3 separate regions of the Homo sapiens genome follow, and regions 2 and 3 are each linked to region 1. The links are contacts of gene promoters, found by promoter capture Hi-C in blood cells and fetal thymus (Javierre and others, 2016). All regions are on one chromosome and are shown on one strand. The core of a region is centred on a gene start or on the middle of the fragment in contact, and the rest is flanking DNA. Distances in the headings are between cores, read along the strand shown. Region 1 holds the start of XAB2 (XPA binding protein 2). Region 2 holds the start of MARCHF2 (membrane associated ring-CH-type finger 2). Region 3 holds the start of HNRNPM (heterogeneous nuclear ribonucleoprotein M).

The links. Contacts are between HindIII fragments. The CHiCAGO score rates a contact against its expected background, and 5 or more counts as called.
Region 2: the fragment with the promoter of MARCHF2 here is called in contact with the fragment with the promoter of XAB2 in region 1 in 1 of 17 cell types (non-activated CD4 T cells); the score reaches 5.2 in non-activated CD4 T cells.
Region 3: a contact is called between the fragment with the promoter of HNRNPM here and the fragment with the promoter of XAB2 in region 1, in 1 of 17 cell types (fetal thymus). The highest score is 6.2, in fetal thymus.

The regions. Positions count from the first base shown.
Region 1 is chr19:7,627,590-7,630,794 of GRCh38, reverse strand. It overlaps XAB2 (XPA binding protein 2), which reads left to right and starts at 1,250. Exons shown (of 19, transcript NM_020196.3): 1 at 1,250-1,318; 2 at 2,497-2,645; 3 at 2,944-3,067. The coding sequence starts at 1,268. PET100 (PET100 cytochrome c oxidase chaperone) reads right to left here and starts at 1,002. Exons shown (of 4, transcript NM_001171155.2): 1 at 935-1,002; 2 at 136-222. The coding sequence starts at 961. It also overlaps a transcript of STXBP2 not described here. RefSeq lists enhancers at 909-958, 1,219-1,338. The HindIII fragment of the contact is 14,766 bases long and covers 1-3,205 here.
Region 2 is chr19:8,411,319-8,414,915 of GRCh38, reverse strand. It overlaps MARCHF2 (membrane associated ring-CH-type finger 2), which reads right to left and starts at 1,611. Exons shown (of 5, transcript NM_001005415.2): 1 at 1,496-1,611. RefSeq lists silencers at 1,445-1,604, 1,635-1,994 and enhancers at 1,486-1,986, 2,857-3,151. The HindIII fragment of the contact is 7,216 bases long and covers 1-3,597 here.
Region 3 is chr19:8,443,685-8,447,000 of GRCh38, reverse strand. HNRNPM (heterogeneous nuclear ribonucleoprotein M) reads right to left here and starts at 2,026. Exons shown (of 16, transcript NM_005968.5): 1 at 1,890-2,026. The coding sequence starts at 2,002. RefSeq lists silencers at 1,518-1,747, 1,988-2,267. The HindIII fragment of the contact is 1,747 bases long and covers 638-2,384 here.

The DNA.
Region 1 (3,205 bases), core at 1-2,500:
GAGCCAAAGGCCTCCAGAGCCCCACATCAGGGCAGGGTCGGCTTATGGGAGGCAGACATTAGTCCCCAGCAGACTGCTGCCCCACACCCTCTCCCACCCCTGGAATGAACCCTCAAACACTCCTCTTATGCCCACCTTGCGCTGTATGACATCGTCCTCAAACCACTCGGCCTGATTGGAAACCCAGAACATAGCCACAGGGAAAGTGAGGTAGATTATCATCTGGAATGGCAGAGGGTGGGTGAGGTGAGCTCCCCCCAAGCAATGTGCAGAGGCTCCTCAGAGCCTGGGGGACCCATCCTACTGCAGAGTCCAGAAGCGCCTCGTTACGGCCGACCCAAGAATCCCAGAACTCCCACCAAGGGTACAGAAACCTCGCACCCTAAAACCTAACTCCTATAATCCAGGAGGCCTCATTCCTGAAAGTTCCCTCTGAGCTGGAGTCTTCCTCTCAAACACAGACAGACACACAGACGCCCCAGCTACAATCAAAAGCATCTCCTCGAGACCTCATTACCCATCCCCACTTAAGATCCCGGGAGCACCCCCAAACCCAGGAGGCGTCACTCTTCAACTCCACTTCTCGAAGTCTAGGAATCTCCCTGTCATAGACACCCACCCACCACGAGCCCGAGAGCTCCCCCAGGATCTTAAGTCTTCCTTCTTTAGAGCCCCCTTCTCAGCTCACCCCTCTCTGAGGTCCTTCCTCGGACCAGCCCTCTCACAGCCCCCAAACCCAGAAGCCCAAATCCGAGAACCCCCCCAGCCCAGCGTCCCCTCTCCTGGATTTCCAACCAGAAAGGTTCCTCTCAAATCTTAAGAGCTTTCTCCTTGGAGCTCCCTCTTCCTTTGAAGTCCCCCCATTTCCAACCTCATCTTCAGATCCAGGAAGATCCCCTGCCCAGCCTCCCAACCCACTCCTGTGTCCACTGACCCGAAATATCTCCAGCTTCACCCCCATCTCGTTTCTCCCGGTCAACAAAGCCAGTTCCGCCCAAAGCCGACCCTCCAGCAAGACAGAAGCTCACTGGTGTTTTGCACGCTCCATTGCTGAAGCTGATTGGCCAATGTGTATCCTGATGGCGCATCTTCTGGCGCCTCTATTCTGCTTCCGGTCGCTGGCGTCGTCGAAAAGAAGTCAATAACGTGGGCCTGTCCGTCAAAAATGATTTAACCAATAGAAAACGGGTCTGGCTCGGAGGGGCGGGCCGTCAGTGGTAGACGTCATAAGCGCGCGACTCTCTCCTGTACCTGGGCATCCAGAAAAATGGTGGTGATGGCGCGACTCTCGCGGCCCGAGCGGCCGGACCTTGTCTTCGTGAGTCCACAGAGGAGCCGGGGGTGGCCTGCGTTGGGGCATTGGGACCTGGACGCCGCAGGGGATCGAGGCTGGGTCGGCAAGGAGATTTAGGCCGAAACTGCCAGGCCAAGGTCTGGGAACCCTAATGGGCCAGAGACCGGATCGTCATGTCCGCACCGAACTGTCCAGGAGTAAAAATATGGTGTTGTATCTTCGGGTCTGAGTAGAAAACCACTGTCGAAGGGAAGCGTCTAGCCTCCCGAACCAGGGGCGGAAATGGGGGCGTGCAGGGAATGGGAGAGGAGGAAGATCGCATAACTGAACCTTGAGAGGTGAAGATCGGTGTCTGAAGTAAAGGCTTGCTTACGAGGCCAGGGTTCTGGTTTCTGGGATGAAGGCTTGGTTTTCTGGATAGCGGTCTCTAGGCCTGGACTGCAGCATGACAGTTTCTGGGGTGGTGGCCAGGCTAGAAGAACCCTGGTGATGTGGAGCTTGTCAGGCGATGGCCAGTGAAATACTTACTCTCTGGAGTAGAGGCGTGACATCTTCACCAGATTCTTGGTGTGCAGAGTTAAAGGCTTGGCTTCTGGTGTATAACTCCTCCTGTGAGATAAAGGCCTAGCTTTTAATTTCTGGGGCAGAGTTGAGCTAGACGCTGGCTAGTGGGATCCTGGGGGCGGGGCTAGTGGCTTGGAATCTGGACCTGAGAGCCCTGGTGGCTGGGGTAAAGATCTGGTCATCTGGGCCTGGGGTGGAGATGGGTCAGATGGTGACAGTGGGAGTCTGAGGGGCCAAAGGCCTGGTGTCTGGGAAGAGGCACGTTTTGAAGAAGTGGGGTCTGGTGTCCAGGACTGGCATCTGGGCCAGGGCCTTGGTATCTAAGGAGTCTGACCATCTGGGGCAGAAAGCGAGTGGTGATGCGGACTCATTCCTGGCCCAGAGCCCTAATGACTGAGAAGTCTGATGATTTGGGTTCGATTTTGGGTAGTTGAATTCTGAGGGGTAAAGGTCTGGGCCACTGTCTTGGTGTCGGGCATCTGGTTTGGTGCCTGGGCATCTGGTGACCTGACTTCCTTGGTGGGTGGTGGGATCTAGGTAAAAGTCCGGAGTTTGGACCTGAGCCCCAGCAGTGGGATGGTGCTGCACACAGGCTCTGAGGGTAGGCCTCTCTTCTTCCCATTCCCTGGCCCTGGCAGGAGGAAGAGGACCTCCCCTATGAGGAGGAAATCATGCGGAACCAATTCTCTGTCAAATGCTGGCTTCGCTACATCGAGTTCAAACAGGGCGCCCCGAAGCCCAGGCTCAATCAGCTATACGAGCGGGCACTCAAGCTGCTGCCCTGCAGGTGGGAATGGCTCCAGCTGCCCTGCCCACCAGCCCCCACCCCACCTGGTCCAGTTATAACAAAACTGCCAAGTGGGTCCCGGGTCCCGGGTGATTGCTTCGTGTTTCATCACTGACCTGTACATCCCTTGATGGGTCAGCACACCTTCTCTGATGTCCCAGTCTGTCCCTGTCATTGCTGAGACATGTCACCCCTCCCACACCCCTTCTTCCCACATTTGCCAACTGGGGCAGGGCAAATGGTTCTGGGGGTGTCCATAAAGCTGACCGATCAGCATCTGTCCCCTCCTATTCCCCAGCTACAAACTCTGGTACCGATACCTGAAGGCGCGTCGGGCACAGGTGAAGCATCGCTGTGTGACCGACCCTGCCTATGAAGATGTCAACAACTGTCATGAGAGGGCCTTTGTGTTCATGCACAAGGTTTGGGGCTCGGCGAGGGGATGAATCGGGAAGTGGAGCTCAGTCCATGGTGGTGGGTGGGGCGGGGACAGGGGCTGGGCTCAGCATGTTAGGGATGGGGGCTTGGATTCCTGTTGCTTCTTTGCATGGGAAGTTGGG
Region 2 (3,597 bases), core at 362-2,861, 780 kb before region 1:
CTGGCTATGCCACCGATGCTGGGTGTCCTGGTTCAAGTCACTTTGCTTCTCTGGGCCTCATTCTAATGATGGAGCTGGTGGACTCTGTCCGTGGAGGGGTCTCCTGAGAAGGAGCCTCCAGGCTGAATTCATCCAGTAAAGCTCACCCTTAGCTAGGCTTGTTTAGGGTGGCACTGAGGCCCCCCAGTCTTTTCCATACCTGCCCAGGCTCCTTTTCCTGAAGGTAGGAAACAGAGGGCAGAGGAATCAGAGGGCCCTAAAACTCCCTACATTGTGGTCTCAGGCAGCTGTTTTACTCTCTCAGCCTCAGTATTATCATCTCTAAAATGAGTGTTACAGGCCGGGCGCAGTGGCTCACGCCTGTAATCCCAGCACTTTGTGCACTTTGGGAGTTCAAGGAAGGTGGATCACTTGAGGCCAGGAGTTCGAGACCAGCCTGGTCAACATGGTGAAACCCCGTTTCTGCTAAAAAGACAAAAATTGGCCAGGCACGGTGGCGGGGGCCTGTAATCCCAACTACTTGACCAGGGTGAGGTAGGAATCGCTTGAATCTGGGAGGCAGAGGTTGCAATGAGCTCAGATCGTGCCACTGCATTCCAGCCTGGGCAAGAGAGAGAGACTCTGTCTAAAAAAAAAAAAGACGGGGAGTCATAATGATATGTAGTTCATAAATTAGTAAAAAATTAAGAAGTTAATAACTATTAGCTCTTATTATAATTACTATCATCAGCTTACAGAGTTGTTGATGAGAGGTCACACAGTCAACCCTGGCACACACAGTAAGTGCTCAATAAAAGCTCTATTAATATTTTTTAGGGTAAATGTGGAGGTTGTTATTGCATTCATTCCTCCCTGCATGAGAAGCAAGGTTCCAATCCCAGCTCTACTCCTTATGTGCTGTGTGGCCCTGGGCAAGACACTTAACCTCTTTGAGCCTGGACTCTCTCAACTGTATAACAGGGGACATTTCTACTGCTTCCACCTACTCAGTATGGTTTCAAAAGAACTGAATGAGCTCAACATGCCCATTTGACTACCCCGTTTTGAGCACCCACATAGCACAGGGCATCCTGTTTCAGCATCTTTGTGCAAAGTGGCTGGGTCATTATATTATAACTTACTATTTTGCAGGCAGAGCCGCTCTGAGAAGGAGGTTGGGGAAGGGCATTGGCCACTTAGCAGTTGCCTACTGTGTGTCAGGCGTTTTCTGCACCAGCCACCTCCTGAATCCTCCCAGAAGCCCCATCAGGTTGGCAATGGGATGACCCAGTTTCACAGGTGGGGAAACCGAGGCTCGGAGAGGCGCCTATGTGTGCCGGACCCCGGAGACCTCCCACCGGCCTTGACACGGGAACTGAGGTCCCCGCGTCCCCGAGAAGGCTGTGGCCAAGGGATCGAGCCCAGCCGTCCCGCCCGGGTGCCGAGCTCCGGCCTCGAACCCGGGGCCGGCCCGCGGACTGGCGTCCTCCGGCCCTACCTGCAGGCCCGTGCCTACCTGATCCGCGGCCGGGCCGGGCGGCCGCACAGGCCCCTCGGTTCGCCTCGGCCCCGGTCCCGGCCCGGCCCGGCCCGTCGGCGCCACTAGCTCCGCTCCGGCCGGCACCTGCGTCCGGGCACCGCCCGCCGAGCCGACAGCGCCGCGGACCAATAGCGACCGCCTCTCGCCTGCATTCGCCAATCGCCTTGCACGTCCCGCCCTAAGAGGCGGGGCCGGAGGCCACAGGGACGACTTGGGCCGCACAGGCCCCGCTGTGCCGCAGCTGCTGGCTCCGCCCCTGCCGCGTCTTGGCTCCGCCCCCAGCTCCGGCTCCGCCCCAGCACTGGCCCCGCCCCAGCCCCGCCCCAGGCACGAGGGGGTGCTGCTGCGCCACCTGCAGACGGCCAGCGTCCTCTAATAAATAAAACCTCTGCAGAATTTAACTTTTTTTTTTTTGAGACTGGCCGGGTGCAGTGGCTCATGCCTGTAATCGGAGCACTTTGGGAGGCCGAGACGGAAGGATCGCTTGAGGCCAGATGTTGGGGACCAGCCTGGGCAACATGGTGAGTTCCCGTCTCTACAAAAAATTTAAAAGGATGGGCGCGGTGGCTCACGCCTGTAATCCTAGCACTTTGGGAAGCCGAGGCGGGCGGATCACGAGGTCAGGAGATCGAGACCATCCTGGCTAACACGGTGAAACCCCGTCTCTACTAAAAATACAAAAAAATTAGCCGGGCGTGGTGGCGGGCGCCTGTAGTCCCAGCTACTCGGGAGGCTGAGGCAGAGGAATGGCGTGAACCCGGGAGGCAGAGCTTGCAGTGAGCCGACATCGCGCCACTGCACTCCAGCCTGGGTGACAGAGTGAGACTCTGTCTCAAATAAATACATAAATAAATAAATAATAAAATAAAATAAAATAAAAGTTAGCCAAGTGTGGTGGCCCAGGCCTGTAGTCCCAGCTGCTCTGGAGGCTGAGGCAAGAGGATCACTTGAGCCCAGGAGTTCGAGGCCAGTCTGGGCAACATAGTAAACTCACCCACCCCCATCTCTAAGACAGATCAATTTTTAAAAAAATACTGCACTATATGTTCACTTAGTATAAGCACACTTTTGCACATAATCACAGTATAACCTTCAAAATCAGAAAATTAATGTTCATCTAATATTATCATGTAATTCCCAGAGCCCATTCAAAGGCCAGGTGCAGTGACTCATGCCTGTAATCCCAGCACTTGGATCATTTGAGGTCAGGAGTTCGAGACCAGCCCGGCCAACATGGTGAAACCCTGTCTGTACTAAAAATACAAATAATTAGCTGGGTTTTGTTGTGGGCACCTGTAATTCCAGCTACTCAGGAGGCTGAGGCAGGAGAATTGCTTGAATCTGCAAGGTGGAGGTTGCAGTGAGCGGAGATCTTGCCACTGCACTCTAACCTGGGCAACACAGCCAGACTCTGTCTCAAAAAAAAGAAAAGAAAAGTTTCCAATAAAGTCCTTTAAAAATCCAAAGTCCAGGCCAGGCACAGTGAGTCATGTCTGCAATCCCAGCTCTTTGGGAGCCCAAGGCAGGAAGGTCTCTTGGGTCTAGGAGTCTGAGATCAGTCTGGGCAGCACAGTGAGACCCCATCTCTACAAAATAAAATAAAAATATTAGCCAGTTGTGGTGGCATCCTCCTGTGGTCCCAGCTACTTGGGAGGCTGAAGTGAGAGGATCAATTGAGCCCAGGAGTTCTGGGCTGCAGTGAGCCATTACCTCACCACTGCATTCCAGCCTGGGCAACAGAGCAAGATCCTGTGTCAAAAAACAAAAAATCCCAAATCCATCCCAGGATCAAGCATTGTATTTTGTTGTTAACGACTCTAATTTAGTCTCTCTTTCTGGAACATTTTATCAATCTTACCTTCTCTCCATGACATCAATATTTTTCAAAAATTCCAGGCTAGTAATTTTGCAGGAAGTCCTTCCATTGCTATTTGTCTAATACTTTCTCATGATTTTGCATTTGTGGCAGGAAACAGATGTGACGTTGTGTTTTCAGGATGCATACAATGCTGATTTTGTCCACTATCGATTGTGCTAACTTGGTTCAAATGGTGTCTGCCAGTTTCTCCAGTGTGAGG
Region 3 (3,316 bases), core at 777-3,276, 820 kb before region 1:
TCCTTCCTGCATACGGTAAATAAATTTATCTTAAAGCCCTCCAAATACCACCCTCAGAAATCCTACCAGCTTCCGTAGATAGACGCTGAAAAAGTCAAAATTAACACATTCCTTCCCAGAGTTTTCAATAGTAAAATGCTGGGAATAGAGGAAGTTTTTCTCATTTCTAAGGGCCAGTAACCATGGTATTTTATTTCTCCCTACTTAAGGAGGGAAAGAATCTGGAATTTTCTCCGGATTTATTATCTACCAATATAGCTAGCACTTAGGGAACGTTCTTAACCTAAGCGCTCAACTAGGCAGGGCGCAGTAGCTCATGCCTGTAACTTCAGCACTTTGGAAGGCCTAGGCAGGAGGATGGCTTGAACCCAGGAGTTTCAGACCAGCCTGGGCAACACCCGGAGACCTCCTCTCTTCAAAAAATTAGCCGGGCATGGTGGTGCCGCGCCTGTGATCCCAGCTACTCAGGAGGCTGAGATGGAAGGATCGATTGAGCCCAGGAGTTCGAGGCTGCAGTGATCTGTGATCGTGCCACTGCATCCCAGCTTGGGTAACAGAGGGAGACCCTGTCTCAAAGAAAAAAATTAAATATATAAGTGCTCAACCGCATTCACTTTTAATCTCCATAAACTAAGCTTCACACATTACAATATGAGGAAGGCAAAGTCACAGACAGAAAGGAAAGAAAACGGAGGGAGTTAGTATTTAATAGCTACACTTTCTGTTTCCGATGATGAAAAAGTTCTGGACATGAAGCAGTGACGGTTACAGCACACTGAGTCAGTATACTCAATGCCACTGAATTATACGCTTAAAAAATGGTTAAAATGGCAAAGTCTACGTTATGTCTATTTTACCACAATGAAATAAATGTCTGGGAAATTCAATGTGTACCCAGGCTTCCCCTTCCTTCCCGGCCGCTGATCTTGGAGCCAAAACCTCTCTGTCTCTCTTAAGTGTCTGTAATCAGAATGAATGAGTTTCACCGGGGCACAAGTCGATGCTTCCTCCTTTAAAGAAACTTTTAAAAGCCAAGGAGTCAAAGAGCCCCAAGCAGGACTCGAAAAGCTGATGAAGTCTGGAAGTAAATGAACCCGCCTCCTGACAGAACAGCTTCCCCGAAACACGGGAAAAAGGGGATTCCTCCCCCGACTTCGTATCTGTCTGCTTCCGAGGGTGAACGCTAAGCAGCAGATCCCATCTCTCCACTAATACCTGCGGCGCACCCGGGGAGGAGGAGCGGGAAACGGCGAGGGACTTGAGCCAGGGCCAGAGCGTGGGGCGAGGGGCGGTTCCGAGGGAGGCACTTCCCGCGGAGCGCGGTCGGCGCGCGGGGACTAAGGGGCGGGGCAGGAGGGGAGCCCCCCGACCCGGCTTCGCGGCCCTTCCTGACGCTTCCCTCGCTCGGTTACCGTTGACTCGGGCTGACTGCGCGCGAGGCCTCCCGGGCGCGCACCCTCTCTCCTCCCCCCACGTTACGGATCAGAAAACAGACCCCGGGAGGAGAGGGGACGGGGGGCTGAAACCCGGCCCCCGAGGTCACCCTCCCGGGGAGCGGTCGGGTAGGCCTCGGAGGCTCTCCGGTCCGGGCCCGCGCCATCAACCCCCATGCGCAGCAGCTGGGCCTGAGGCCTCGACTACGGGGTTGGCCCCGGCCTGGAGGGACTGAGGGTGGCGAGGCTCGAGGCCCGGTGTAGGGGACGATTCTGGAGGCTCCCCCGGCTCCCCGCTCACGGCCCTAGACGCCGCTACCCTGAGCAGGCGGTACGGGAACAGCCGGGGCCGAGGCCGCGCCGGGGCTAGGCCGCCAACAGACCTAACGGAGCCGCCGCCCGCGTCGGCCGCGGAGAGGAACCCTTACCCGTGGCAAAGGACCGTGGGATACTCACCCCTTAGGGCCCGGAGCCCCGTTGCCGCTCGGCACGCCGGGCGCGCCGCTCTCTTCCTCCATTTTGATCTCCGTCGCCGCCACCTCCGCCGCCGCTTCGACCCCTGCCGCCATTTTCTCCGCGTCTGGGCTTTGTGTGAGCGAACGGGCTGCACCGCGCTGCGCCTGCGCGCCCACGTGACCCGACGCAACCAGTAACACCTGCGCCCGCCGCTCCCGGCTGCCTCCTTGGCCCCACTCGCCCCGGGCCACGCCCCCGCCGCGCGCAGGCGCAGACCGGCAGCTGTTGATCGCTTCTCTCTCGAGATACACTCGCGTTAGGCACCGACTGGCTGTTCCCGGCGCGCGTCCTCTGAGTCCGATAGAGGAGGCATCTCCCCACCCCACCCCACACAAACACCTAGACCTAGTCACTCTCAGCTTTCTGTAACCAGAGCTGGAGCAGAGGGGAAGCAATGATCCTGTCTAGAGATTCCTGGAAGTTTTAGATGAAGCTTGTTCAACCCGCGGTCCGGCACACGATTCGTAAACTTTCTTAAAACATTGTGTCTTTTTGTGTGATTTTTTTCTTTTTGTAACGCAATTGCGCGGTTCTCCAGCGCGAACTTTGTAGGCAACAACGGAACGGCATGGAATAATATCAGAGTATTATCCGTAATTCGCATTATAATTGCAAACAGTTCGTCCAGAAGAAACGGAAAACTGTTAAAATTCACTAATAATGGGGCCAGGCGCGATGGCTCACTCCTGTAATCCCAGCACTTTGGGTATGGGAGGCCGAGGCGGCGGATCACCTGAGGTCAGGAGTTCGAGACCAGACTGGCCAACATGGTGAAACCGCGTCTCTACTAAAAATAAAAAAATTAGCTGGACGTGGTGGCGGGCGCCTGTAATCCCAGCTACTCGGGAGGCTGAAGCAGGAGAATCGCTTGAACCCAGGAGCCGGAGGTTGCAGTGAGCCGAGATCACGCCACTGCACCGCAGCCTGGGAGATAGACTGAGACTCCATCTCAAAAAACAAAAAGATAAGTATTGAGTACTGGGCTTAATACCTGGGTGATGAAATAATCTGTACAACAAACCTCCATGACAAGTGTTTACCTATTTAACAAACCTTCACATTTACCCCCAAACCTAAAAGTTAAAAACAAAATTAAAAAAAAAATTAATGGCTGGGCGCGGCAGCTCACGCCTGTAATCCTACCACTTTGAGAGGCCAAGGCGGGTGGATCACGAGGTCAAGAGATCAGACCATCCTGGCCAACATGATGAAACCCTGTCTCTACTAAAAATACAAAAATTAGCCGGGTGTGGTGGCAGGCGCCCATAATCCCAGCTACTGGGGAGCCTGAGGCAGGAGAATCGCTTCAACCCAGGAGGAGGAGGTTGCAGTGAGCCAAGATCGGGCCACTGCACTCCAGCCTGGTC